Regions from separate parts of the Homo sapiens genome. Here all the other regions are linked to region 7. The links are contacts of gene promoters, found by promoter capture Hi-C in blood cells and fetal thymus (Javierre and others, 2016). All regions are on one chromosome and are shown on one strand. Each heading gives the region's core, a stretch centred on a gene start or on the middle of the fragment in contact. The rest is flanking DNA. Distances are from core to core; before and after follow the strand shown. Region 1 has its middle 12 kb from the start of MRPL46. Region 2 overlaps RLBP1 (retinaldehyde binding protein 1). Region 3 overlaps MRPS11 (mitochondrial ribosomal protein S11). Region 4 overlaps FANCI (FA complementation group I). Region 5 overlaps FANCI (FA complementation group I). Region 6 overlaps DET1 (DET1 partner of COP1 E3 ubiquitin ligase). Region 7 holds the start of HAPLN3 (hyaluronan and proteoglycan link protein 3).

The links. The method cuts DNA at HindIII sites, captures the fragments that hold promoters and counts their contacts. A CHiCAGO score of 5 or more calls a contact.
Region 1: a fragment that was not itself captured here is called in contact with the fragment with the promoter of HAPLN3 in region 7 in 2 of 17 cell types (total B cells and naive B cells); the score reaches 6.3 in total B cells.
Region 2: a contact is called between a fragment that was not itself captured here and the fragment with the promoter of HAPLN3 in region 7, in 1 of 17 cell types (naive CD8 T cells). The highest score is 5.6, in naive CD8 T cells.
Region 3: a fragment that was not itself captured here is called in contact with the fragment with the promoter of HAPLN3 in region 7 in 3 of 17 cell types (naive CD8 T cells, total CD4 T cells and non-activated CD4 T cells); the score reaches 9.2 in naive CD8 T cells.
Region 4: a fragment that was not itself captured here is called in contact with the fragment with the promoter of HAPLN3 in region 7 in 1 of 17 cell types (naive CD8 T cells); the score reaches 5.0 in naive CD8 T cells.
Region 5: a fragment that was not itself captured here is called in contact with the fragment with the promoter of HAPLN3 in region 7 in 2 of 17 cell types (naive CD4 T cells and naive CD8 T cells); the score reaches 5.8 in naive CD4 T cells.
Region 6: a contact is called between a fragment that was not itself captured here and the fragment with the promoter of HAPLN3 in region 7, in 1 of 17 cell types (naive CD8 T cells). The highest score is 7.4, in naive CD8 T cells.

What each region holds. Positions count from the first base shown.
Region 1 is chr15:88,453,504-88,456,402 of GRCh38, reverse strand. No RefSeq gene overlaps it. Among named protein-coding and RNA genes, the nearest start is that of MRPL46, 12 kb to the left of the region's middle. The HindIII fragment of the contact is 236 bases long and covers 1,406-1,641 here.
Region 2 is chr15:89,210,142-89,213,333 of GRCh38, reverse strand. RLBP1 (retinaldehyde binding protein 1) reads left to right here. Exons shown (of 9, transcript NM_000326.5): 7 at 1,433-1,591; 8 at 2,525-2,635; 9 at 2,891-3,192. The coding sequence ends at 3,049. Among named protein-coding and RNA genes, the nearest start is that of RLBP1, 9.8 kb to the left of the region's middle. The HindIII fragment of the contact is 3,749 bases long and covers 1-3,192 here.
Region 3 is chr15:88,473,740-88,476,796 of GRCh38, reverse strand. MRPS11 (mitochondrial ribosomal protein S11) reads right to left here. Exons shown (of 6, transcript NM_022839.5): 4 at 1,558-1,687. Among named protein-coding and RNA genes, the nearest start is that of MRPS11, 7.6 kb to the right of the region's middle. The HindIII fragment of the contact is 6,293 bases long and covers 1-3,057 here.
Region 4 is chr15:89,286,149-89,289,395 of GRCh38, reverse strand. The region is part of intron 18 of FANCI (FA complementation group I); the gene reads right to left. Among named protein-coding and RNA genes, the nearest start is that of MIR6766, 39 kb to the left of the region's middle. The HindIII fragment of the contact is 6,511 bases long and covers 1-3,247 here.
Region 5 is chr15:89,245,589-89,248,763 of GRCh38, reverse strand. It overlaps FANCI (FA complementation group I), which reads right to left. Exons shown (of 38, transcript NM_001113378.2): 2 at 1,033-1,135. The coding sequence starts at 1,116. Among named protein-coding and RNA genes, the nearest start is that of FANCI, 3.2 kb to the right of the region's middle. The HindIII fragment of the contact is 644 bases long and covers 1,453-2,096 here.
Region 6 is chr15:88,531,291-88,534,406 of GRCh38, reverse strand. It overlaps DET1 (DET1 partner of COP1 E3 ubiquitin ligase), which reads left to right. Exons shown (of 5, transcript NM_001144074.3): 2 at 2,692-3,116. The coding sequence starts at 2,702. Among named protein-coding and RNA genes, the nearest start is that of DET1, 14 kb to the left of the region's middle. The HindIII fragment of the contact is 636 bases long and covers 1,549-2,184 here.
Region 7 is chr15:88,893,681-88,896,912 of GRCh38, reverse strand. It overlaps HAPLN3 (hyaluronan and proteoglycan link protein 3), which reads left to right and starts at 1,369. Exons shown (of 5, transcript NM_178232.4): 1 at 1,369-1,454. RefSeq lists an enhancer at 1,532-2,143. The HindIII fragment of the contact is 19,838 bases long and covers 1-3,232 here.

The DNA of each region.
Region 1 (2,899 bases), core at 274-2,773, 440 kb after region 7:
ACATACTTAGGCTCCTGAATTCTGCTCCTTCATTTAGCTGTAACATCTTTAGCTTTTACAACTCCCATTCTCACCTTTTCTAAGTTATACATTGTGGCAACCAAGCATTTCTGACCTATTTGGAAAGGGATGTGAGTAACTTGGACATTAATGGTTTCCATCCATTAATGCCACACACAATGGATGTATGGCAGGTAAGTCCCATAGCCAGCCTCATCCAGCTGGTTGGGCATGTTAGCTCTGTCCCACCCTGGGCCAGGAAATCCAGAGCCACTGTTAGGCACAGGCTTATGGGCACTAAAAACAGAAAGGATTTGCTGACCCGTTCTATTACCCCAACAGGGGAAAAGGAGTGCCGCTGAAAGGTCAGCAACCCAATTATTGAAAGCTCACAGATCGCTAAGCTTCAAACACACATAGCAAGATAAAGCCTGTTTGCCTGAAATCTCAGGGTAGCCTCAGCCCCTACCCTTCTCCGCTTTATTTTCTAGAAGCACATCGAGCCTGGATTATGGCCAGTTACTTTAGGCTATCAGTCGCCTTTCACCTGTCTTGGCATTTTGGTGCTTAAAACAGGAAGCGAAGGAGGAAAGTGTTCTCTCTGTGGTCAGAATAGGTGCTGTTAAAGGCTCAGGAATAGGTCCAGATAGCTGAATCACTGCTGTAGCTGAGGGGCTGGGGCTGGAAGGTCCCCTGCAAGTCAGGAGATAGGCACTGCCAGGGAGGGTCTTACTAGCCTAGAGCAAGACATAGGTGCACATGTGCACGCATACATCCCAGCTACCCTACTAAGCCACTCTGAAGTGGGCCTGAGAAGCCGGCCCCAGGTTTTATTCAGAGGCTTTGGCAGTACAAACAGAGCATTGATTGCCCAAGTGTCAGATACCAGGCCCCAAGTAGCTGCTGAGTGGCTAAGGTGGGTGGGGGAGAGAGACTCCCAGGTTCTCCTTTGGCCCAGTAGGGGAAAACTGTCCTAATGTAGTCAGATGAGGGCACTGAGGCTAGGGCTTTTGGGAATGACAGGGCTAATAGACAAAGTTGAGAACACCCTGGGCCTAAGGGGATTGGGACACACCTCCAGGTCAGAAAGCCTTGGGGTAGATCAGGCTGAGAAAAGGAGAGAGAGGATATCCCCAGACCGAGAAACCAGATGGCAGCCCAGAGTGGAAGGCGGGGCTTTATGACAGCTGGAGCGGGCTCATACGCATGAGCACCACAAGGTGGCAGGGTTTGCCTGGCATCTGCTCTTCCAGAAGTAGGCTGTCTCTGGAAACCTTCACGAAACCTGGAAACCTTCTGGAAACCTGCCTGGCCTTAGGCTGCTGCCCTTGGAGAAGCTTCGTATCTCAGGCTGAGCAGAGTCCCCAGCACCCAGTCTCCTGGGGTTAAGCAGCAGCCAGAAGCTTGCTGGCAGCCAACCAGGACAGATGTGGGGCACTCATGGCCATCCACCCCCATGCATCAGCTCCAGGGAGTGTCACAGATGGACGCCATGCCCTTGGGAGGGGAGGGCACCCAGACTGCCATGTGTTAGGACCACTTCATGTAGCCTTGTGCTAGGCCTGCATGTCCACAACATAATCTGACTCACCTAAGAATTACGTTGGTCTTGTGTGGCATTTTTAGATCCATAGACAAGCTTGGAGAGGGGAGGAGACCCTGTGAAGGTCTCAGTCAATGCTTGGTAGAGCCAGGATTTGAACCCAGAGCTATGTGATTCTAAAGCCATCCATTGTCCCATGCTGCCTGGACCCCTGCCTTTGTATCATGGAATTCCTGAACTGGTCATGGAGGAGCAATCTACTGCAGGCTCATGGACCCCTTGGAAAGCCTGAACTGGGGTGATTTGTGAGAATATGAAGAGGATTGACATGGAGAACAGTGAGGCTGAAGGGATTGGAATTATTTGAACTTGGAGAAGGGAATGGTGAGAGTCATGGTTTTTGAGTGTGTATATTACTTACACAGAGGATGTCCATTAGTCATCTTGGTCTGAATTAGAGGAAGTAAGCAAGCGTTAAAATGCAACAGTAGGAATTTTGAGAAGTTACACATGGGAAGAGTTCCTTGACATTTAGGATTATTAAATATTAAAGTGAGTTTTTATTTGAAGATGCTACTTCTTAGTACAAAAATCAACAGTTAAAGCACAATTTGGGAAAGCTAATTGGTAACAGTGGGTAAGAATCTCCATGAGTATTAAAAATAAAACAAGAACAAATGCCATTAAAAATAAGGTCAGTTCTGAGTAGTCCAATAGATTAGTCTTTTTCAGTTTGTCAATCACCTCACCACATTTTCTACAAGACGGTAAATCTTGATGACAAGGAAAAACCTCAAATAAAGAGAATTCTTGAAACATCCCAGTTAACCCTTCAACAAATATTTGTGGAGGAGGTTGCTTTACAGCCAAGCACTGGGAATAAAATGGAGACCAAAATACTCTTGGCCAACATCCTCAGTTTAGTGCTGAGGGTGGTGGGGGAACCCTGCCTGTCAACAAGCCAAAGGGAGCTGTGCTGTGCACCAACCCTGTGAGGGCCTCAGAGCAGGCCTCAGAATAGAGGGGAGAGAGCCAGGGAATAGAAGAGAGTAGGAATCACGTGCACAAAGCCCAGAGAGGCCTGGAAGAAGCTCTGTGGGGCTGGAGGGCAGTGCATATGGGAATTATTTTACAGTGTTTTAGGTTCTTAACTGTCCAAGACAGCTTAAGAGTAGTTTTGTCTGAAGGCAAGAGAATGAGTTCCATGATGCCTTGTGCAGAATCACATCTAACCTGAGGGCTGGATTCTAAAGTCACTGTATAGGTCACAAATAATCTATGACTAAAGTTACCATGGAAATATCCTTTAGAAAGGTAACACATTGGTGACTGGCCAGGTCTCTCCGGGAATCTAAC
Region 2 (3,192 bases), core at 164-2,663, 320 kb before region 7:
AGGAGATAGTTTTTCTTCTCCCTTTCCACTTCTTATGCCCCTGATTTTTTTTTTTTTAACAAATTGATTGCATTGGTTAGTACTTTCAATATAGAATTAAATGGTGGCAGAGATGGTGAAGTCTTTATCTAATTCCTGATCTTAGTAAGGATGCCTCTAGGGTTTTCCCATCAAATAAGACACTGGCTGTAGGACTGAAATGCACACCTGCCTATCTGTGTGTATTAAGGAAGAGACTTAAATATATGTTTTTTCTTATTACGTAAGTGATATCTACTCATTTTAGAAAATACAAAAAATTGGCTGGGCGCAGTGGCTCATGCCTGTAATCCCAGCACTTTGGGAGGCCAAGGTGGGTGGATTGCCTGAAGTCAGGAGTTCGAGTCCAGCCTGGCCAACATGGTGAAACCCTGTCTGTCTCTACTAAAAATACAAAAATTAGCCAGGCATGGTGGCAGGCACCTGTAATCCCAGCTACTTGGGAGACTGAGGCAGGGGAATCGCTTGAACCTGTGAGGCAGAGGTTGCAGTGAGCCAAGATCGCACCACTGCACTCCAGCCTGGGTGACAGAGCAAGACTCCATCTCAAAAAAAAAATTACAGACAAATTTAAAATCATTTGCAATTCTACTACCTAGAGAGCTCTACTATTGACATCCTTCCAATCTTTTCATACATGTATGCACGCACATACACACACACACACACGCGCACACACACACACATTTTTCTTTTTTTTTTTTTTTTTGAGACACAGTTTTGCTCTTGTCGCCTAGGTTGGAGAGCAGTGGCGTGATCTCGGCTCACTGCAACCTCTGCCTCTCAAGTTCAAGTGATTCTCCTGCCTCAGCCTCCCAAAGTAGCTGGGATTACAGGTGCCTGCCACCATGCTCAGCTGATTTTTTTGTATTTTTAGTTGAGATGGGGTTTCACCATGTTGGCCAGGCTGGTCTTGAATTCTTGACCTCAGGTGATCCACCTGCCTCGGCCTCCCAAAGTGCTGGGATTATAGGCGTGAGCCACCGCACCCAGCCCACACATTTTTCTTACAATAATGGGATTATATTCTACAATAATATATCATGCACATTTTCCTGTATTATTAGTCTTCTGTATTGTTTTTAATTGTTCCAGAGTATTCCATGGCATAAATGTACCATAATTTCACCAGTTCCCATTGTTGGACATTTAGGTTGTCTCCAATGTTCCCACTATTGCAAGAGTACTGGGATAAACCTTCTGGCCTCTAAGCATGGATGTGACATTTGAACTTGTTTTCTTGGTATACATTCACAGAAGTGGAATGTCCGAGATCAAAGCCTGCAGCAAATTACCCCAGTGAAGAATGTACCAATTAGCTCTCCCCTCAGGACCTCAAGCCTTAATTATTGTTGCGGGTTAGATCTTACAGCCTGTTCTCTCTGTGCCCAAGATCTTGCAGGCATATTGCTTCATCCTGGAGAAGCTGCTGGAGAATGAGGAAACTCAAATCAATGGCTTCTGCATCATTGAGAACTTCAAGGGCTTTACCATGCAGCAGGCTGCTAGTCTCCGGACTTCAGATCTCAGGAAGATGGTGGACATGCTCCAGGTGAGGCTTAGAGTTCTGTCGCACGGCAGCCTCCCACAGCTGGGGAGGCTGAGAGGCTGGGCCTCCTTTCATGGTGCTTGCAGGGAACTGAGAAGTTGGACCACCTCGCGCCATAAAGAGCAGTGACAGCCACAGTCCCAACCATAAGCACCTGCATAGTGATTGACAGTTTGCCAAGTATTCCCTTTCATTCTTCCATCGACTCCTTGAGAGCATTCTCTCCCTCCTTCCCTGCTTCATTTTTCAAACCTGGAAACGAAGGCTCAGAGATTTAAGAGACATCTCGAGGTCACACAGCAATAAAGCGGCAGAGGCCAGACTTGAACCTGCATCTTCTGACCTGGAATCCCATGTTGTCTGTCCACATATGTCGCACTGCCTCTCTTTGAATGTGGATTCACCCCGAGAAAGGGATTATCACTAACCCTCTGATAACTCACTCCTATATGTGCTGACATGTCAGGAGTCCTTTCTTAGAGCCATCTTAGATCTGCTCTGTGTATTGGGAAAGGAGGGGTGGGAGGTGGAGGTTGTGGGAGGGGCTGATGGACAATGAGGGATGATAATACTGTTCCTGTCGTTTGTAATAGTTTGCAGTCCCTTCGGCAGGCAAGTGGGTTTGAAAAAACTCACCAAAAGGTCAAGCAAGGCTACTTTCATTTCTTTTCCTAATTCCCAGTTTAATTTGCATCAGCAGGGAGAGGGTTGGGTCTTATGAATCTTGGGGCTTCCTCCGTGCAGTCTGGGCCACAGTGAGCCAGGGATCCCTAGTTGCTGGCCTGGAAATAGGACCTTCAGTGGGCCCTTCTCCAGGGCAGCCCTGTGATGCTGGACAAGTCTGTTCTATGCCATGAGGAGAGGCAGCAGGGAATGAGTGGGAGCCTCTGAGGTCACTGGGGCCATGGGGAACGGGGTATCTCTCTGTCACCGCAGGATTCCTTCCCAGCCCGGTTCAAAGCCATCCACTTCATCCACCAGCCATGGTACTTCACCACGACCTACAATGTGGTCAAGCCCTTCTTGAAGAGCAAGCTGCTTGAGAGGGTGAGTACGTGGGCCGCCCAGACAATGAGACAAGAGGGCTGAGGGTGGGGCCTCACCTGAGCCCTCCTCACACTCTACCATGGTCCTGAGCTATGTGGATCCCACTGACACCCAACATGGAGACCTGCGGAGAGAGGTGTCGCCAGGCAAAGACTGCACATGATGGGGCTTTGTCCTCCTGCCCCTTTCCTCCCTCAACCCTCATCCTTAGGGCACCTCCTCCTGCTCAGTTCTGTCTCCCTTGCTTCCCTGCAGGTCTTTGTCCACGGGGATGACCTTTCTGGTTTCTACCAGGAGATCGATGAGAACATCCTGCCCTCTGACTTCGGGGGCACGCTGCCCAAGTATGATGGCAAGGCCGTTGCTGAGCAGCTCTTTGGCCCCCAGGCCCAAGCTGAGAACACAGCCTTCTGAAAACATCTCCTGCCAGCTGAACTGTAGTTAGAATCTCTGGGCCTCTCCTCAACTGTCCTGGACCCAAGGCTAGGAAAGGGCTGCTTGAGATGACTGTGGTCCCCCCTTAGACTCCCTAAGCCCGAGTGAGCTCAGGTGTCACC
Region 3 (3,057 bases), core at 525-3,024, 420 kb after region 7:
AGAATTCACGTGACTGTGATCTGTTTAGCCTAGGACAGCACCGCCACCTAATGGAAATTTCTAAATATTGCTCAGGTTTTTCTCAGGGGGGCAAATGCAGAATTTCAGACCATGAGGCGCCACCCTAGGCTTCAAGGCTGAACCTAAATACCCACTTTAAAAGTATTATCATTTAAAATCTCTAAGCAGTTAGAGTTAAAATTTACTTTCTTGATAATAAAGGCAGTTCATTATAAAAATGGGAAAATATACAGAAATCATTCATGACTCACCATGCAGAAGCCACTGTGAACAGTGACATACTTCTTTTCATAGTATATGATCTGTCCATGGTTGGGCATTTACAGCATTTTGATTTCTGATGATAGTACATGCAATCAATATTTTGGGGTGCCTTCCCTTGTTTGAAGGTCAAGGTTTTCCTTCAGGAAATACATCTGGTTTGGCAGAGTCTGAACATTTGTAAGGCCTGTACTATAGTAGAAATTGTGCAGGCTTTGGTCCCAGACCAATCTGGGTTCCGATCAGTGAACTGAATCGGTGCATGGCTCTGGGCAAGTCACACACTCTGAATCTCAATTGGCTTATGAAAATGTGGATAATACTGAGGGTCTCTGAAGATTCAAGATAATGAATGTAAAGTGTCTGGCACATGTAGATGCTCAATAACTATACCAATAGCAGCACCTTGCCAATTTGCTTCTAAAAAAGGTCTACGACAGTTCACACTGGAACTGGTATTGCTATTGCATGAGTCCCCACGATACTATGTCCTCTCCAAATAGACTATCATATCTCTCCCAACCCCAAACCACTGGTCTTTATTTTTATTTTTTTTCTTGAGATGGAGTCTCGCTCTGTCACCAGGCTGGAGTGCAGTGGTGTGATCTCGAGTCACTGCAACCTCCACCTCCTGGGTTCAAGTGATTCTCCTGCCTCAGCCTCCCGAGTACCTGGGACTACAGGCGCGCACCACCACGCCCAGCTAATTTTTCTATTTTTAGTAGAGATGGGGTTTCACCATGTTGGCCAGGATGGTCTCGATCTCTTACGCCTGCCTTGGCCTCCCAAAGTGCTGGGATTACAACTGTGAGCCATCGCGCCTGGCCTATTTTTAATTTATTTTGGAGACAGGGTCTCTCTCTGTTGCCCAGGCTTTAGTGCAGTGGTGAGATCATAGTTCACTGCAGCCTCAAACTCTTGGGCTCAAGCCATCCAGCCTCAGCCTCCCAAGTAGCTGGAACTACAGGCAGGTGCCACCAGACCTGGCTAACGGTTTTTAAATTGAGGGGTCTTTGGTTCTCAAGCCTTTGGTATCTTGGCTCTTACATCCTAGAATGAACCAACAAGGGCTTCACCTCTAATGAAGCTGAGAGAAAGAAAAAAGAGGAGCCTTTCACTAAACCTTTTCAAACCAATGCTCCAATCAGGGCATCAAAGCTGCCATGACAAACCCTTGCTTCTGAATGGGTAGTATAATGAGGATTCTCCACTCAGTGATGAGCCATGCAGAAAGCAAACACACACTAGAAGGAAGCAGAAGGAACACACACTTACCGCCGCTGCGGCTATGCCTGCTGTCTGTGCTGCGATGCCTGTGCCCTTCTTGGCATTCCGAAATCCCTCTGTGCCACAGGAAGCAAAGGCAAGGGGCTCATTACTAGCAGAGACTACCTGGATCTGTGTGCTGAGAAAAGTAGAAGAAGCACATAGGATACAACTCTTCTTCAGGGAAATAAGAGAGAGCTAATCTATGCCCCTAGAAGCCTGGGTGAGAAAGAAAAAGGAATTCAGTTGCTTCTACTTTGAGCTTCTCAGATGAACATGTTTTGAACTCCTACAGGAAGTATCAGGAAAGGTCAGAATTCTCCCCTAAACCTGACTGAAAACTGGTAAGTCACATAATTTAAAGAGCGCTCCATAATCTGAGAGTAGTTAGTTAAGTATCACCCAGAAAATGACTGTATTGGGGAAAGTTTTAAATATACACAAAAGTGAAGAGAATAACATAAGAAATCTGATGGACTCATCAACCAGCTTCAACAATTATCAACTCATATCCAATTCAGTTTCATCTATAAACCTTGTTCCCACCCCACTCCCCTCACCAATGGATTATTTTGAAGCAAATCCCAGACCTATCATTTTGTCTGTAAATATTTCAGTACATAGCTCTAAAAGAAGGACTCTTAAAAAAATATTAGCAATATTACCATATTGGCTACTTTTTTTTTTTTGAGATGGAGTTTTGCTCTTGTTGCCCAGGCTGGAGTGCAATGGCACGATCTTGGCTCACAGTAACCTCCGCCTCCCGGGTTCAAGTGATTCTTCTGCCTCAGCCTTCAGAGTAGCTGGGATTACAGGCGTGCACCACCATGCCTGGCTAATTTTGTATTTTTAGTAAAGACGGGGTTTCTCCATGTTGGGCAGGCCGGTCTTGAACTCCCGACCTCAGGTGATCTGCCCGCCTTGGCCTCCCAAAGTGTTGGGATTACAGGCATGAGCCACCTCGCCCGGCCTCATATTGGATACTTTTGATGCTTATGACACTATATTCCATGATCAAAAATTATTTTAAACAAGTAAAACTTTTCTCTTTTTTTCTTTTTTATTTTTTTGTGAGACAGGGTCTCACTCTGTTGCCCAGGCTGGAAGTGCAGTGGCACAATCATAGCTCACTGCAGCCTCCAACTCCTGGGCTCAAGCCATCCTCCCACCTCAGCCTCCCAAGTAGCTGGGACTACAGGTGCATGCCACCACGCCTGGCTAATTTTTGTATTTCTTTAGAGACTGGGTCTCACTATGTTGCCCAGGCTGGTCTTAAATTCCTGGCCTCAAGTGATCCTCCCAAAGTGCTGGGATTATAGGTGTGAGCCACTGCATCCACCCACAACTTTTTCTTAATCATCTCTAATAAGTTACTTATTAATACAATTAAGAATGCCTTAAGAAATCCTCAGATATGCTTTGATTTCCCCTTTAGTCATCATCATCCTATTTCTGGTCTGGAGAGCTCTGAGAGCTCACAGAAGGAGGCAGGAGAAGTGACTGAAGGGG
Region 4 (3,247 bases), core at 493-2,992, 390 kb before region 7:
GATGGGGAGGTTGTGGTGAGCTGAGACCCGAGACCGCACCACTGCATTCCAGTCTGGGCAACAGAGTGAGACTCCATCGGAAAGGAAAGGAAAACGGAAAAAGGGGAAAGGGGAAAGGAACGGAACAAAGGAAAATTAATCCTAACAGCAATTAAAATATTTTATGAATGTGTAATAATAATAAAAAGACACTTTGTCTTGGCACAAAAATCTACAGGCAAAATTTTAAAATGGCATACAGAGATACATAGTACACATTAAGGAGGCAATGATGTCTGAACAAATGGTTAGCTTGGGGGAAAAGCTCCTCATATATATTATCATACAAATTCAGGATGAATTAAGTAGCTAAACGTCAAAAACAAATGCATAAAAAAAAAAACCTCAAAGAAAATGTTAGTGAATATTCATTGGAAGGATTTGGACTTTCTACAGATAAAATAATAATAAAGATGGGCCGGGCACGGTAGCTCATGCTTTTAATCCCAGCACTTTGGAAGACTGAGGCAGGAGGATCGCTTGAAGCCAGGGCATTTGAGACCATCCTGGGCAACAAAGTGAGACCCTGTCTCTACAAAAGGTTAAAAAAAAAAACAAACAGAAAAATTAGCTGGGTGCAGTGGCTTGTGCCTATGGTCCCAATCGTTTGGGGATGGGGCTGAGGCAAGAGGATTATTTGAGCCTAGGAGCTGGAGGCTGCAGTGAGTTAGACTGCACTAGTGCACTCCAGCCTGGATAACAGAGGAAGACTCTGTCTCTTAAAAAAAAAAAAAAAGTAATAGAAGACATCTCAGAGGAAGAAAATCAATAGATTTAGTAACCAAAAATTATTATTTAAGTGTAAAAGGATCATATTAAAAAAAAAGCAAATGGCAATCTGGCATACACTTGCAACAAATATGACAAGTTTTATCACTACATAAGGTATTTTTATATACCAATGATATACTAAGACTGATGAATAAATGAACAGCAATATTCTAATAGGTTTAAGTCTATGATCCACTTCATGTTAATTTTTTTTACTTTAGAGCTAAATAAGGGTGAAGATTTTTTTTGGGGGGGAAGGGGCATATCAAGGACTGCACAAGAGTTAACACATGAAGTCTAAGACTGCCTATCCTTAGTGCACCTTTGCCAGCTGGTGGCTGAGAATTTAGCTGGTAAACAGTTACTTACACTGACACAAAGCTCACCCTAAAGAAGAGTGGCTCACTGTGCCTTAACTGTTTAAACAATGTGGTTTATACAGAATATGGGCGTACCTAATTTTATTGCAAGTTGCTTGATTGCACTTCGCAGATATTACGTTTACAAATTAAAGGTTTGTGGCAACCCTACATCAAGCAAGTCTCTCAGTACCATTTTTCCAAAAGCATGTGCTCACTGCATGTCTCTGTGTCACATTTTGGTAATTCTCATAATATTTCAAACTTTCTCTTTATTATTGTATGTGTTATGGGGATCTATGATAAATGATCTTTGACATTACTATTGCAATTGGTTTGAAGAGTCACGAATTGTGTCTATATAAGATAGTGAACTTAATTGATAAATGCTGTGTATGTTCTGACTGGTTCCACTGACTGGGCCATCATCCCATCTCTCCACCTCTCCTCAGGCCTCCCTATTCACTGAGACAAAACAATATTGAAATTAGGTCAATTAATAACCCCTACAATGACCTATAAGTATTCAAGTGAAAGGAAGAGTCGCACGTCTCTCACTTTAAATCAAAAGCTAGAAATGATCCAGTTTAGTAAGGCATGTTACAAGCTGAGGCAAGTCAAAAGCTAGGCTTCTTGCACCAAAGAGCCAAGTTGTGAATGCAAAGAAAATGCTCTTAAAGGAAATTTAAAGTGCTATTCCAGTGAACATATGAATGATTAGAAAGCAAAACAGCCTTATTGCTGATGTGAAGAAAGTTTTAGTGGTCTGGTAAAAGACCAAGCCAGCCACAACATTCCCTTAAGTCAAAGCCTAATCCAGAGCAAGGACCAAACTCTTCAATTCTATAAAGCCTGAAAGAGATGAGGAAGCTGCCAAAGAAAAGCTGAAGCGAGCAGAGGTTGGTTCATGAGGTTTAAGGAAAGAAGCCATCTCCATAACATAAAAGTGCAAGGGGCTGGGCGCAGTGGCTCACGCCTGTAATCCCAGCACTTTAGGAGGCCGAGGCGGGCAGATCACGAGGTCAAGAGATTGAGACCATCCTGGCCAACATGGTGAAACCCCAGTCTCTACTAAAAATACAAAAATTAGCTGGGTATGGTGGCGTGAGCCTATAGTCCCAGCTACTTGGGAGGCTGAGGCAGGAGAATCACTTGAACCTGGGTGGCGGAGGTTGCAGTGAGCCGAGATTGTGCCACTGCACTACAGCCTTGTGACAGAGTGAGACTCAAAAAAAAAAAAAAAAAAAAAGTGCAAGGTGAAGCAGCAAATGCTGATGGAGAAGCTGAGGCAAATTATCCAGAAGATATAGCTAACATAATTGATCGAGGTGGTTATATTAAACAACAGATTTTCAATGTAGATGAAATAGCCTTATATTGGAAGAAGACTTTATCTGGGACTTGCCTAGCTAGGGAGGAGAAGTCAATGCCTGGCTTCAAAGGACAGGCTGACTGTCTTGTTAGGGGTTAATGTAGCTGCTGACTTTAAGTTGAAATCAATGCTCATTTACTATTCCAAAAATCCTAGGGCCCTTAAGAATTATGCTACATCTACTCTGCCTGTGCTTTATAAATGGAAAAGCAAAGCCTGCATGATAACACATCTGTTTATAGCATGGTTTGCTGAATATTTTAAGCCCACTGTTGAGACCTACTGCTCAGAAAAAAAAAGATTCTTCTCAAAATATTACTGCTCATTGATAGTGCACCTAGGCATCTAAGAGCTCTGATGGAAATGTACAGAAAGATGAATGTTGTTTTCACATATGCTACCACAATATCCTCTGGGTGAGTTATATGCTAATCACAAGTCAGTAGTTGTATTTCTCTTAGCTGTACTGTCATAATAACTAGTGATTTAATCAGACGTTCAGTAAACTGTTGAAAACCCAGTGCAAAAAGAAAAAGAAGTTGCTTTTATAAAAACTAAGTTAGGCCAGGCATGGTGGCTCACGCCTGTAATCCCAATACTTTGGGATGCCGAGACAGGTGGATCACTTGAGGCCAGGAGTACAAGACCAGCCTGGCCAACATGGTGAAATCCCATCTCTACTAAAAATACAAAAATCAGCTGGGCA
Region 5 (3,175 bases), core at 525-3,024, 350 kb before region 7:
GGAAAAATGAGGGAAATATTAGCATTACTCTATCCTAGAGTCAGAAAACATCTGGAACACTGTCTTCAATTTGACAGTGTTCACGCCTTCAATTTGAGGCATGAAACTTTAAATAAATAATTTAAATGCTAGTTTCAATCAAATCTTGTCTATAGAATGATTCAAGTTACAACTCATGCAACAAGTCATCTCAAAAAATAGCTATAAAGGCAATCTTGGATAATTTCAAAGAAAAAAAAATCAAAGAGCAACACTGCATCAATTCCTAGTTAGTATGTCAGATAACACACACTAAGATGCACCTTCCTTCAATAACTACAACATTAACACAAAGAAATTCCCTTAAAAACATAATACTCATCAATTGACAGAAAAAGGAAAAAAATCCCATGATACTCAATGTCTTTACTTGTTTGTACATATACCTTGAAGAGGGATTCTTTTCCAGGCAGGGACCTGGATAGGATGAGATCACTTATGGAAAAAGGAGCAGTATATCAGCTGAGAAAGAACATTAGGGAGAAGAAACAGCCTAACATATAAGGCAATTACTATCCCATTTTATAATCCTACACTTATAGTGAAAACAGAGGCCCTAATTTTTACTAATAATTTCAAAATATTTTGCCGCTTATAAACTTAATTTCTTTACGGAAAAATACAGAGAAGCATCAAAATGCAAAACTAATGTCTCAATCAGTAACTATAGTCTGGATATTATCATCAAATAGGATTGTTCTGAGGACCATAAAAGTATACTAATTGCTTTTATAAATACAGTTGTAAAAGCATTCTATTCTTAAACTATTTCAGGTTTAAACTTGGTCACAAATGCCCTCAAGTAGTCTATTTCTCTCATTCCCTCACCCCAATTTCTTTACATCTATAAATTATTATTAAATAAATCCTTGTCTCCTACAGTGAATGGGGAGTAGATGAAGAAGCAGCGTAATTTTTCTTTCTCACATGTCCTTTGAATGTGTCATCATGCCTGACATTTACTTTTAGCAGAACATGCTTCCTAATACTCACATCACCTTCTCTCAGGGTTTGAAGAAATTCTTGCAGTTTGTCTGCTGTTTTTTCTGCTGCTAGAGATAAAATCTTCTGGTCCATTGTTGCTCATATCACAGAACTACAAGGGAAAAACGTCAGAGGTGGGTGAAGATTCCAGAAATAAACAAACTTGATTTGTTTTCCTTCCCTGTTAACTGAATATTTCATACCTATTATGCAATGGGTGCTCAACAAACTTAGGACTATCTTTAAGTAGCTGATTCTTTTTTCTTCTTCTTCTTAAGCTCAGTGGCAAGATGATTCTTAACCTAACCAAAATAATCCTGAAAATTCCCTGGAATTGCCTTATTAGGAATCTGTATTCTAATCAAGTGGTTTCATAATTTTTGCCCACACTTGTTACCATCTACTCACCATACTACCTAGAACAAAGCTTCCATTTAACAGCATATCAAGTATGTAATACATTATATATTACCATAAGCATGTAATAAAGTATTTGACAAATAAATGAATAAACCAATAGCACTATAAATGCTATGTGCCAATTAAATGGTATAAAAACAAGTGAGAAGGGGAGCCCAAGAGTGTGAGGCTGCAGTGAGCTATGATCATGCCACAGTACTCCAGCCTAGGCAACAAGGTAAGACCCTGTCTCTTAAAAAAAAAAAAAAAAAGAGGCCGGCACCGTGGCTCATGCCTGTAATCCCAGCACTTTGGGAGGCTGAGGAGGGCAGATCACGAAGTCAGGAGATCGAGACCATTTTGGCTAACACGGTGAAACCCCCGTCTCTACCAAAAATACAAAAAAAAATTAGCTGGGCGTGGTGGCGGGCGCCTATAGTCCCAGCTACTCGGGAGGCTGAGGCAGGAGAATGGCGTGAACCCGGGAGGAGGAGCTTGCAGTGAGCGGAGATCACGCCACTGCACTCCAGCCTGGGCGACAGAGCGAGGCTCTGTCTCAAAAAAAAAAAAAAAAAAAAGAAAGGAAGAAAGAAAGAAAGAAAAGCTGAGAAGTTAACAAGGTAAAAGATGTAACTGTGTTCTTAAATGTCAAGGTTTCGCAGCAGAGGAAAGCTTGAACTGGAACTTAGAGATTAAATATAGGTAGTCCAGACAACCAGGTTGTATACATTATGGAGAAGGGTATCATGAACAAAGGCATTCATACGGGAAATGAGAAATTTCTTTGGGGGAAAATGAGTAAAATGGCTGAGGTAGAATCCAAGTAGGAAAATAGTGAGTAGGAAGTCTGGAAAGATAGGCTGGAAGTAAACAGGTTAAGGAATTTAGATTCTATTTCGTAAATTACTGAGAACCATTAAAAAATTTGAGCAAAAGACAATCTCACAAGATTGCAAGTGTTTGAGGAAACAGAACCTAGCATCTTTGTGCAGATTAAAGTGGGGAGAAGGTAAGAAGAAACAGCAAATGCTAAGAGACCATTTGGAAGTTATTTTAGTGGAAATGATAAAGACCTGTACTAGGGTGGTGACTGGAGAACAGAAAAGATGGGATGAAATGGAGGCACATGAAGCAGATAGAATTCAGTGAGTAGCTATGAAAATAGAAGGGGGAAGTACAGCCTAGTAGAAAGAAAATCTGTTCCTCCTCTTCTTCCTCCTGTGTTTCCCGTCTCCATAAATGGTACCATCATCCACTCAGCTGCTCAGACCAGAAACCTAGGTAACATTCTTAACAACTTTGCCTTCATCCTTCACCACATCCATTACCAAGTCCTGTCAATGTTACCTACTAAATATCTCCCAAATCTGTCTACTTTTCTCCATCTCCACTACTGACACATTACCCCAAGCCACCACCATCTCTCACCTGAACTACTGCAATCGTTTCCTAACTTGTTCCCTTCTACGCAGCAACTAAAGTGATGTTTTTGAAACACAAACCTGATTATGTGACTTATCTTCCCTCCATGCCATCCTCATCTTAAAGCTCTTCAGTGGCTTCCATTGCTTTATCAGTCCAAAACCCTTAAGTAAGGATAAAATAAGTCCTGCAAGTTCTGACCCATGCCTACCTCCCTTTCATCACTCTGCTCCAGCCATGCAGAATTGCTTCCAGTCCTTCAAATCTCCAAGTTCTTTCTGCCACAGGCCCTTCCACATGTTTCCATCTGGAACTTAAATAAATATTCCTG
Region 6 (3,116 bases), core at 617-3,116, 360 kb after region 7:
GCCCATTCAGTGGTACTTTATTGTTAGCCAATTGGTTTTTCTCATATGCCTGTCTTATGCATTCTGTCTAGGTTTTATAGCTGCATTTTTAGTGGGAGAGAGAAGGTGGTGTTTGATTATTCCATCTTATCTGGCAACAGCTTTATAACTTAAGTTTTTCACTAAATGCCGTTGACTTTTATGGCCTGTGATTTAACTTTGATTTGAATCAAGGTATAATAAAACAATTAGAAGACTTTGCCATATAATAGATGCCCCATAAATATTAAAACATATTTTTATTGTGATTTTAAAATAGCCTAACATTTACCGTCTTAACTGATTGTAAGTGTACAGTTCAGTAGTATTAAGTATATTCACATTGTGAAATTGATCTCGAGAAGTTTTTCATCTTGAAAATCTGAAAAGTCTAACCCATTCAACAGCACCTTCTCTTTCCCCTCCTGCTAGTCCCTGGTGACCACCATTCTTCTTTGTTTCTGTGAATTTGATTCCTTTTTCTTTTTTTAATGATAAGTATTTTACATTAATTTTTTTTTTTTTTTTTTTTTTTTAGAGATTGGGTCTTGCTCTGTTGCCCAAGCTAGACTCAAACTCCTGGGCTCAAGTGGTCCACCTCAGCCTCCCAAGTAGCTGGGATTACAGGTGTGTGCTATGGCACCTGGCTGTTAAATTTGATTACGTTTGATACTTCATTTAAGTGGAATCATACAGTATTTGTCTGTTTGTGATTGGCTTATTTGACTTCACATAATGTCCTCAAGTTTCAGTGATGTAGCATATGTCAGAATTTTCTTCCTTTTGAAGGCCGAGTAATATTCCTTTGTGTGTATATACCATATTTTGTTTATCCACTCATCCATCAGTGAACTTTTGGGTTGCTTCCATCTCTTGACTACTATGAATAGCGCTGATATGAACATGGGTGTGCAAATATCTCTTAGAAATCCTGCTTTCAGTTATTTTGGATTTATACCCAGAAGTAGAATTGTTGGATCTTATGGTAGTTCTAATTTTCTTCAAGGAACCTTCATACTGTTTTCCTTAGTAGCTGTACTATTTTTCAGTTCCACCAACAATGCACAAGGGTTCAACTTCCTCTATGTCCTCAATGAAACTTGTCATTTTCTTTTTTTAAAAAAAGCAGTCGTTCTAATGGGTGTGAGGTGATATCCCATTGTAGTTTTGATTTACATTTCTCTGATGATTAGTGATGTTGAGCATCTATCTTTTCATATGCTTTGTGGCCATTTGTATAGGAGAAATGTCTGTTCCAGTACTTTGACCATTTTAAAATTGGGTATATGATTTTTTGTTATTGAGTTATAGGAGTTCTTTATATGTTCTAGATATTAACCCTTTATCCAATATATGATTTGCAAATATTTTCTTCCATTCTGTAGAAAGCCCTTTCACTCGGTTGATTGTGTCCTTTGATCACAGAAGTTTTAAGTTTGATGTATTCCCATTTGTCTATTTTTGTCTTGGTCGCCTATGCCTTTTGTGTCTTATCCAAGAAATCACTGCCAGATCTGATGTCATGAAGCTTTCCTCCTGTATTTTCTTCTAGTAGTTTTATAGTTATGGGTCTTATATTTAGATTCTTTTCCTATTTTGGGTTAATTTTTGTATAGGGTGTAAGATAGGGTCTGACTTCATTCTTTTGCATGTGGCTATTCAGTTTTCCCAACACCATTTGTTGAAGTGACTGTCCTTTTTCTATTGAGTAGTAGTAGGACCTTATCAAAGATTGTTTAACCATATATGCCAGAGTTTATCTGTGGGCCATTTCATTGGTCTGTGTCTGTCTTTATCCAGTACCACAATTTTTTGATTACTGTGGTTTGTAATATATTTTGAAATCAAGAGGCTTGAATCCTCTTTGTTCTTTTTCAAAATTATTTTGTGTATTTGGAGGCCCTTGAGATACCATATGAATTTTAGGATGAATTTTTTATCTTTGTGAAAAGTGCTATTAGGATTTTGATAGGGTTTGTATTGAATCTGTAGATTATTTTGGGTAATATGGATATCTTAACAGCCCAATAAATATTTTTTGCTGGAATGAATGCACATTGAATATGATTTTTTTGTTTGTTTGTTTGAGATAGAGTCTCACTCTGTTGCCCAGGCTGGAGTGCAGTGTTGTGACCACGGCTTATTGCAGCTTCGATGATCCAAGCTTAAACAATCCTTCCACTTCAGCCTCTCAAGTAGCTGGAACTACAGTCATGTGCCACCATGCCTAGCTAATTTTTATATTTTTTTGTAGAGACAGGGTTTTGCCATGTTTTCCAGGCTGGGCTTGAACTAGTGAGCTCAGGTGATCCACTTGCTTCGGCCTCCCAAAGTGTTGGGATTACAGGTGTGAGCCACTGCGCCCAGCCGAATGTGTCTTATACTGTTCAAATTTGTAGTTGTAGGTTTTTTTCTGTTGAACTTTCCCAACAGCTGAGCATACTTGGAAGGTATTCCTAGTGAACTAGATCCTTCCCTTAGACCTGTTTCTAGACTTAGAAATGTTAGGACCACTTACTCAGTATAATCTGGGAAGTAGTAATGCCAGTCACTGTCATCTTGGGAGCTCCTAGGTTCAGGATATAAGAAGAGAAATCTGTTTCACTTGTATATATTTATATTTTGGTAAATTCTGTTTCACTTTCTTGACTTCTGCTTTACTTTTCTGTTTAGAGATGTGATAATGGATCATCATGTTTCTACCATCAAGCCTCGAAGAATCCAAAACCAAAATGTCATTCACCGCTTGGAACGCCGGCGGATCAGTTCAGGCAAGGCAGGTACCCACTGGCACCAAGTCCGAGTGTTCCATCAGAATGTCTTCCCCAACTTCACAGTTGTCAACGTTGAAAAGCCTCCTTGTTTCTTGCGTAAATTCTCACCTGATGGACGCTACTTTATTGCTTTTTCTTCAGACCAGACATCTCTTGAAATCTATGAGTACCAGGGCTGCCAGGCAGCAGAGGACCTACTGCAGGGATACGAAGGAGAAATCCTGTCCAATGGCAATGACCAGCGGTCAGTGAATATCCGGGGCCGGCTCTTTGAACGCTTTTTTGTCCTGCTGCACATTACCAATGTTGCGGCCAATGGTGAGC
Region 7 (3,232 bases), core at 120-2,619:
CTCGACTTAACTGTAGCAAAATGTGCTCTCCCTACTGTCCATCCTCTCCCCTGTCGGGAACCTGCAGAGGGACCTACCTTGGCTCCCCTTTGCCCATCAAGCCTGGCGTTCCTTTTAGGTGTAGTTTACCTGTTGATCACAGTTCTTTGTGCTCCAATGTGCCCCTGGCTGTGTGTAACACACACACATGCACACACACACACACACTCATGGGCCAACTTGAGCTGTGTTTAGGAAGAGGCTCTGAGCTCTGTGACCCTGTGACCCTTCGACCCTTCCCCCAGCCAAAGCTGAAGGACCTCCTTAGTCTTTTCTGCTGAGGAAACATCGGGCTGTCCAGGCCAGGGCCCCCATTGGTCTGGACAGGAAAGAAAACACCCTGTCCAAACAGAGGCATCCTGAGCGGCTGCCTGGATGGCTGTGCTGATTAGCAGGATTCCGAAGGGAGGCCCACCCCTGTTGGAGGACCACTCAGAAGCCTGATTGCCCCTGCAGGCTGCAGAGGTATCCCACCCTGTGTCTCCCCTCCCAGCCAGGGCCACTCATTCAAGCCCCATGTGCTGGGGATAGCACCTGCTATGTGCCTGACAGTGAGTTGGGAATCTGGCCAGTGTTTCATGATGGCCAAACTCAGGGGCATGAGGACATCAGCAACCCCTTGCTTTTTTTTTTTTTTTTTTTTTGAGACGGAGTTTTGCTCTTGTTGCCCAGGCTGGAGCACAATGGCATGATCTCAGCTCACTGCAACCTCCGCCTCCTGGGTTCAAGCAATTCTCCTGCCTCAGCCTCCCAAGTAGCTGGGATTACAGGCATGCTCCACCACGCCCAGCTAATTTTGTATTTTTAGTAGGGACAGGGTTTCACCATGTTGCCCAGGCTGGTCTTGAACTCCTGACCTCAGGTGATCCACCGGCCTCCACCTCCCAAAGTGCTGGGGTTACAAGCATGAGCCACTCACTGCACCTGGCCTCACCCCCTTGCTTTCTATTTGGAAAAGAAAGTAATACAGAAGTCTCACCCCTTCCACAATCAAAGGTGGGGAGCAGCCTTAGCCCCTAGCAGAATGCTGGACAGGGGCTTCCCCTGCTTACTCCCACTGTTTTTGGTATACCAGGCTTTCTAAGGGGATCCCCCCTCCCCAAACTCTCCTATTCCACCCCTACTCTCCTTTCCCAAGACGTGAGGGCCTCAACTCTTGCACACCCTCTTTGCGGTGGTTCCCAGCGAGTCTGGAGACCGCTCAAGCCTGCAGCAGCTCCTCCCTTCGAGCCCAGCCCTTGGGAGGGAAAGGTGCGCGTGTTCCTTTAAGGGGCTGGTCTGGCGGGAGCGCGGGGGTTTTTCTGCTGCCGCTTCCTTTCTGCCCTTTTAATTTCCCCGAAATCAGACTGCTGCCTTGGACCGGGACAGCTCGCGGCCCCCGAGAGCTCTAGCCGTCGAGGAGCTGCCTGGGGACGGTACGTGGCTTAGGGGTCGCTGGGCTTCTGGGGCTGTGTGCGGGCCGGGTTCCTCCCTTACCGCTTTGGGTGCCCTGCGGGTCCCCACACCTCCCGGGCAGGGTCCGGGGAAGGGGCAGGAGGCGTGGGCCGGGCACTGCGGAGGCCCGGGCTGAGATGGGCTGTGATCGCGGGCGAGGGGCGCCCGGGGCACAAGTGGGGAGGGAGCGGCGCGGGGATGCGGGCGCCGGACCCTCGTGCCCACCGTGAGGGAGCAGAGCCCGAGCGGACCCCGTGGCCTCCGAGACCACCGTCCGCCTCCAGCCCCCTTCCTGCCAGGGTCCGCTTGGCTCTCTCCCCTGTCGTCTGTCCAGGGTCGGCTGCCTCCAGTGCCGTCCGCGGCGCCCCAGGCCCTGCCCCTGGGTATCTGTTGGATGCTCCGGGGGCCCCGGGAGTCCTGGGAGGGGCTGAGGGCAACCTGCGAGGCGGCTGGCGGACCTGCGCCTCTGGACCGCAGCTGGCCGGCTCTGGGCGCCTGGGGCAAAGGCAACTGATGCCTATGGGTTCCAGACCTCGCTCACCGGGGTTCTTGCCCCAGGGACAGCGAGGCCAGAAGGGTAGGGAGGGTGGAGGGCAGAGCCCTGGGTGGGAGATGGCGACCCTCAGGGAGAAACGTAGGCTTGTGCGCAGCCAGTATGGAAACAGCACGGCACTTGGACCCAGTCCTGCCACCAGCTCGTTGGCAGCCACAGGCCACAGGCAGCCTGTAAACCTGTTGGGACCTTGGTGTCCAGCGCTGACCCGCGGGAGTGCCTGTGCTCCCTGGAGTAGGGGGCAGCGATTGAGAGGGGCCCTGGCTTCTCTCCCTCGACGCCGCCCGGGCCAGCGGATTGGGAAACACCTCCGGTTTTCATTCTCCTGGGGGCTGCAGGTTTCAAAGGCGGAGATCAAGCCTTGTGCAAACAGGGACAGGGATGTCAAATTTCTCGCTGGGAGCAGCGCTCGTGCAGACCTCGCGGGCGATGCTGCCTCCTGCTGGTACCTGGGGGACTTGTACTCACGGAAGGCCCAGTGCGGACATGCACCTGGCAGGGAGGTGGCACCTACCCTCCCTCCAAGCCCAGGCTTATTGTTCTTGGGTGGAGGGGTCCCTAGGCTGGGGCGCCTGGGAAAAGCAAAGGGCTGGTCATCAGGAAACCTGAACTTTCTCTAAGTTCGAGATATTTGACAAAGATAACGCCTTGGGTAGTTCACTGACCTCCACTCTCTTGGCCTCAGTTTCCTCAACTGTGAAGAGGAGGCAGTGGTGACCACTTTGTCTCGTAGGCAGTGAGAGAGGAGAAAGAGCCACTGAGATGGTGTAAGACTTCACTGTGTGAACTGCTCACCAGAGTAGTAACAGGTCATATTTTCCCAGTGCTTGCTCCTTATCAAGCATCAAGCAGTATTTTCAGTGCTCTGCAGCTATTCTCTCCCTTAATCTTCACGAGAGTGTTTTCTGTTTGGTATTGTCGTGACCGCCCCCCCCACCCCAACTTTTTTTTTTTTTTTGAGATGGAGTCTCACTCTTCTTGCCCAGACTGGAGTGCAATGGCTCAATCTCGGCTCACTGCAACCTCCGCCTCCTGGGTTCAAGCGATTCTTCTGCTTCAGCCTCCCGAGTAGCTGGGACTACAAGCGCTCATCACCACACTCGGCTAATTTTTGTATTTTTAGTAGAGATGGGGTTTCACCGTGTTGGCCAGGCTAGTCTTGAACTCTTGACCTCAGGTGATCTGCCCACCTCAGCCTCCCAAAGT